Linked DNA regions of Homo sapiens: region 2 is linked to region 1. Evidence: promoter capture Hi-C in 16 types of primary human blood cells and fetal thymus (Javierre and others, 2016). All regions are on one chromosome and are shown on one strand. Each heading gives the region's core, a stretch centred on a gene start or on the middle of the fragment in contact. The rest is flanking DNA. Distances are from core to core; before and after follow the strand shown. Region 1 holds the start of CFLAR-AS1 (CFLAR antisense RNA 1). Region 2 has its middle 4.3 kb from the start of SGO2.

Region 1 (2,780 bases), core at 236-2,735:
ATTTTAGCCTTGTCCACCTTGCATTTCCCAAACACGTTTGACCTCAGAACTCCCTTTTTCACTAAGAATGTTTTGCCCATCTTATGTTTTACCCATGTGCTCTATAGCAGTTAACACTGGGCTTATTAAAGGTACTCAATATGTGATTGTAAATTAACTGGTGAAGCATTCCCTCATTCTTGTTTATTTTATACATTTATTTAATGAAGCCCTTTTCATAGAAATTGTCAAGATAAATGTATCCTCATTTAGATCAAAACAAATTCTAAATTAATGAAGTCATGACATTTTACTGTATTTTGGTTTTTTTGGTTTATCTGTGAAGTCCTCAAACCTGTGAGTAGTGCTGACCCTAGCCTTGAATGAACAGCCCTGTACTAACTGCAAGGCCAGAAGAACCCCTGCCCTTCCCCTCCCCACCCCCCCACATCATTTCCAGAAGTTCTAAAGAACAGTTGAAATTTACGGAGATCAGACTGGGTTGAGTGTGGGATTTCCAGGGTGGGTTCTAGAAGGAGAAGTGGGTCTTCTGTAGTTTGTTGAAATTTTATTTTCCAAACCCAGCCCCCAAGTTTTTCTTCCTCTATTTATGTGCAAGGACAAAACAGTTACTGTCCTACCTACATAGGATATGGACTCTGTCTGCTCTGAGCCCATTTTAGTTTAGAATATAGAGACCTCCCTCCAGGTCCTAAGAGAGAGATTCCATGAGAGATGTGCAACACCATAAGGTTGGTGATTTGTACTTTGAAATGGCTGCCTTTATTTCCTTTAAAGTCAATATCTTATATTTGAATAAACACAGTTTGCAAAGCATCTTTACAGAAATCTCATTGGATCCTCACGGTCACCTTTTTTCTGAGACAGAGTCTCACTCTTTCACCCAGGCTGGAGTGCAGTGGAGCGATCTTGGCTCCTCCACTTCCTGGGCTCGAGTGATCCTCCTTCCTTAGCCTCCCAAGTAGCTGGGACCACAGATGCGTGCCACCATGCCCAGCCAATTTTTGTATTTTTGGTAGAGATGGGGTTTCGCCATGTTGCCCAGGCTGGTCTCAAACTCTGCAGCTCAAGCAATCCACCCGCCTTGGCCTCCCAAAGTGCTGGGATTACAGGTATGAGCCACTGTACCCTGCCCTCACAGTCACCTTTTGAAGAACCTCCTGCTCAAGAGATCCTCCTGCCTCAGCCTCCTGAGTAGCTGTGATGACTACAGGCTTGTACTACCATGCCTGGCTAGTTTTTTTATTTTTTGTAGAGACGGGGTTCCCTGTGATGCCCAGGGTGGTCTCAAACTCCTGAGCTCAAGCCATCCTCCCACCTCAGCCTCCCAAAGTGCTGGGATTGTAGGTGTGAGCCACTGCACCTGGCCAAGCATTAGTTTTAATCTTGTTTTATAGATGAATAAACTGGGGCTGACTCAAACTGACTCAAAGTCACACTGTCATTACCTTTTTGATCCTGTACGTTAGACTGGGCTGTATGCATGTTCTTGCTGGCGCAATAAAGTTGCAAGTGCCAGCTAACAGCCCTTCCCACTCCACCTCACCACCTCATAGAGGAAAATTGTGACGTTAATGGGAAATGTCAGCGGTAATGTCTTCAGGCTGGGCCTGTGGAGTGACTCCCTTGCCACAGGATATTTAAGCAATGCTGTGTCTTGTCTGAGGCTCAGACCTGCTATTCTTATTGGCACTTGGGACCTGCATGGTTTTTGGCTTCACCTCCAGCTTTAGCCATTTTTCTTCTGTTCTTTTAGGTAAGGATTTTCTGCCCCAGACCTCAGATTCCCATTTCCTTCCTAGCTTCTCTGCTGTTATAGCTCAGTCTCTTCCAAGACCATGCAAGATTCAGACCCTAGTAGGAGGAGATGGAGGAACTAGGACTTAAACCCACATCTTGTGATTCCAAGGCTGGTTCCTCTTTTGCCCTGCACCACACAGCTGTCTGCTCACAGTCATGTGACAGGGGCTTCCCCAGCCAGAACCTCCAGGGAGCACAAATAAAGGAAAGAGCTGGAAGGCACAGTACAGCATTTGTTCTGTCCAAGCCTTACATATCAGCATGGGCAGGGAGAATGTGGTGAAGTTTTCTTTCAAGGACTTTGTTTGATAAGGAAGGACATTTATCAGTGAAGAGAGGTTTTGAGGGAAGTGAACCAATCTTGAGATAAGTACACAAAAGAGCTTTGAGTCTGGTGTTTCCCTGTTTGCTTCTGCCCCCTGGAGGAGCAAATACTCCATGATTAGAGACGTGTGAGTCCTTTGGAATAGAATAGCAGTGATGGAACTGGAGTCCTAGTCCAGGTTCTCTCCTTGTTCAGCCTGGATTCAGCACTGGGTATCGAAACAAGCCTGCACCCTCAGAGGAGATGGCTAGGGGACAGTGCGTCCAGGCCTCTTCTACCACACAGAGTTTTCTTTTTTTTATAAAGGGTATACACATTTAAAATTTAATGATACTCCCAAATTGCTCTTCAAAAAGGCTGTGCAAAATTACAGTCCTGATAACAGCTACCCAGAGATCCTGTAACGGCATTTGCCCTCATCATTATTATTATTATTATTATTATTATTATTATTATTTGAATTTGAGACGGAGTTCTGCTCTGTTGCCCAGGCTGGAGTGCAGTGGCGCAATCTTGGCTCACTGCAACCTCTGCCTCCCGGGTTCAAGCAATTCTCCTGTCTCAGCCTCCCTAGTAGCTGGGATTACAGGTGAGCACCACCACGCCTGGCTAATTTTTGTATTTTTAGTAGAGACGGGGTTTCACCATATTGGCC
Region 2 (2,961 bases), core at 249-2,748, 640 kb before region 1:
TGTGACACAGCCTCAGGAAGTCCTGATGACATGTGCCCAAGGTTGTCGGGGCACAGCTTGGTTTTATACATTTTAAGGAGGCATGAGACGTCAATCAATATATGTAAGAAGTACATTGGTTCCACCCAGAAAGGTGGGGACAACTTGAAGCAGGGACAGGGCTTCCAGGTCACAGGTAAATGAGAGACAAATGGTTGCATTCTTTTGAGTTTCTGATAGGCTTTTCTGAAGGAGGCAATCAGAATGTACATTTATCTCAGTGAGCAGAGGGATGACTTTGAATAGAGTGGGAGGAAAGTTTTGTCCTGAGCAGTTTCCACCTTGACTTTTCCCTTTAGCTTAGTAATTTTGAGGCCCCAAGATTTTCCTTTCACAAATACAAACCCCCCCTCCAACCTCATTCCCCTGTAGCTATTGTTACTTCTTTCTTGATCCTCAAAGAACTGTCTATTCTCATCTCTGCATCCTCTCTGCTGCAAAAGGAATGACTCCTTAACTGTCAAACCCCAGGACTGTTCTCACTCAGGTCTTCCTGCTGCTTAAGACCAGGTTGGCAGTCCCTTCCCAACCATCATTCCTCCCTCAGCCCTCCCACGTGTCTCCTTCTACCTCTCACTGCCTCTCTTGCTGCCTTTTCATCTTTCCTCCATTCATTGATGTTCACCGTGATTCTACCTTCTACTCTTCTTGTGCCTCTACACACTCTTCCTCCACAACTTAATCAACTCTTGTGATTTCTAATTACTATTTGCTGCTGACTCCCAAATCTGAGTATCCCTTTTCAGCTCCATATTTCTTATTTCTGTGAGCCTACTGGACATTTCTGACTAGATCTCCTAAATAGCAGAGTTATTTTCCACAGCTGCTATTCCTTTGCATTTTCAATGAAGAGTGGAAAAGGGAAGGCTATATGATGAGGAAGGGTATGGGGGTCTCTGGGACCCCATCCAGCAGCCAGGGAATGTCCATATGGAAATAACTCTGGAGACGTGGGCTTCAGGACCATGCCAGCAGCGTGGTACATGTAACTGTGAGTCCACTGGTAAAGCCAGTGAGTACAGCAGCTATCTTTTCAGGCCCCTTCCTCAAGCCTCCACTTTGTATGGTTTGGATTTTATGAGTGGAGATATTGAGTAAAGGAGTACTTTAAGCTTTTCGGACTTCCTGCAGAGGCACAGGGTGGAGGCTGAGAAGTAGACTACACCCCAGTCTCTCAGTGTCATCCAACATCTGGACTGGAGTAGTGTAGAGAAAAAAGTCGCCATGAGAACCACGGCTAGAGGTTATCTAGCTGGACAAGTGGTAGACCAAGTTCCCTGATTATTTTATCCCTTTCCAGACAAGCCTCCCTTCTACACACACATACACCTTGGTCAGACATAAGGAAGCTTGGTGCTCCTGTTACATATTCCCTGCCCTTGCCTAAACCACAGAAATGTTCTTGAATCACCTCAAGGCTCAAAGACCCCTTCCATCTATCCCCAACATCGATCCTGGATTTTCTAGAGTTAATCGGATCTTTATCACTCCCTTTTCTTAAACTTCTTGAGAGTTTAAGCACTGCTCCCTCCCCTACACCCAATGCTTTCCTTCATTGTCCACACAAAGTAAAGCTTCTTAGCGTGCACCCAAGATCCTTCTGTTACTTGACTTTGTCTAACCTCTCAGCCTTTGCTCCCCCTATCTGACCACATGCGTCCTAGGCCCCAGCAGCTCTGAACTGCTTCCTGGGACAGGCTATGTGCTGTCAGCCTAATGAATCCCACCCAACTTGGCCTTCGAGGTTCCACCGCTAAGTGACTTCCCCTGAAGATTTGTCTTCCCTCTTCTTTTAAGAGCTGCTCTTTGTTTCCTAAATATTCTTTCTTTCTTTCTTTCTTTCTTTCTTTCTTTCTTTCTTTCTTTCTTTCTCTTTCTTTCTTTCTTTCCTTCCTTCCTTCCTTCTTTCTATCTTTCTTTCCTTCTTTCTTGAGACAAGAGTCTTGCTAAGTTACCCAGGCTGGTCTTCAACTCCTAGGCTCAAGCGATCCTCCTGCCCTGGCCTCCCAAAATGCTGGGATTACAGGTGTGAGTCACCGCAGCTGTCCTGTTTCCTAAATGCTTTGATGGCATCTTTTGCAAACCTCAACATCTACATATCACAATATACAGGAATGGACTGTTTGCTTGTCTACTGTCTCCCAAAAGGAAAGAACATTTGCCTCATCCATCTTTACCCTCAGCAAAATGCCAGGTGCAAAGGGGCTCCTGATAAACGTATATTGAAGAAAAAGAGGAGGCTGACAAGCAGGAAACATGAGGAAATTAGCATGATGGATACCATGCCTCAAAACCAAAGTGACAAATGACAAAGTAATTCTCTCACTATCTTGAGAGGCTCAGGCCAGGCTGCCTGGGTTCAAATACCAGCTGCACCACTTAACTAAACCTTGTAGAAGTTACTTAAATTTTTGGTGCTTTCTTGGTTCCACCCAGAAAGGTGGGGACAATTTCCTCAACTTTAAAAAGGAAATGATGGTACCTACCACATAGGATCATTTTGAGAACTAAAAAGGCATTTAAAGGGCTTGACACAGTGTCTAGGACAAGATAAGCCCTTAATAAATATTATCTGCTGCTGTTATAATGATTAGCTATCCATCACCCAGCACAGCTTATTTAACTGGTTTCTATTAAATAAAATAAAAGTAATTATTGTAGTAAAGTTGCATAAAATACTGAAATGAACCTTTGTCATTCTTTTGGCCGCCTAGCTCAAAATGCACTTCCTGAGTTTGGGTAATTCCTCACCTTATGAGTCTGTCTAGGTTACCTCTCACTAAGAAGCCACCATCATCATAATCATCATCATCATCAACACAACAACAAAAGCCAGACACAGGCTGTTCAGGACTCCCTTGCAGCAGGACTTGTAGCATATGATTCAGGTTTGACGAGTCAGACACACCCAAACCAGGTCTA

The links. The method cuts DNA at HindIII sites, captures the fragments that hold promoters and counts their contacts. A CHiCAGO score of 5 or more calls a contact.
Region 2: a fragment that was not itself captured here is called in contact with the fragment with the promoter of CFLAR-AS1 in region 1 in 1 of 17 cell types (neutrophils); the score reaches 5.4 in neutrophils.

What each region holds. Positions count from the first base shown.
Region 1 is chr2:201,156,307-201,159,086 of GRCh38, forward strand. CFLAR-AS1 (CFLAR antisense RNA 1) reads right to left here and starts at 1,486. Exons shown (of 7, transcript NR_040030.1): 1 at 1,449-1,486. The region is part of intron 8 of CFLAR (CASP8 and FADD like apoptosis regulator); the gene reads left to right. RefSeq lists enhancers at 1,785-1,864, 1,885-2,214. The HindIII fragment of the contact is 4,248 bases long and covers 1-2,780 here.
Region 2 is chr2:200,520,459-200,523,419 of GRCh38, forward strand. No RefSeq gene overlaps it. Among named protein-coding and RNA genes, the nearest start is that of SGO2, 4.3 kb to the right of the region's middle. The HindIII fragment of the contact is 225 bases long and covers 1,387-1,611 here.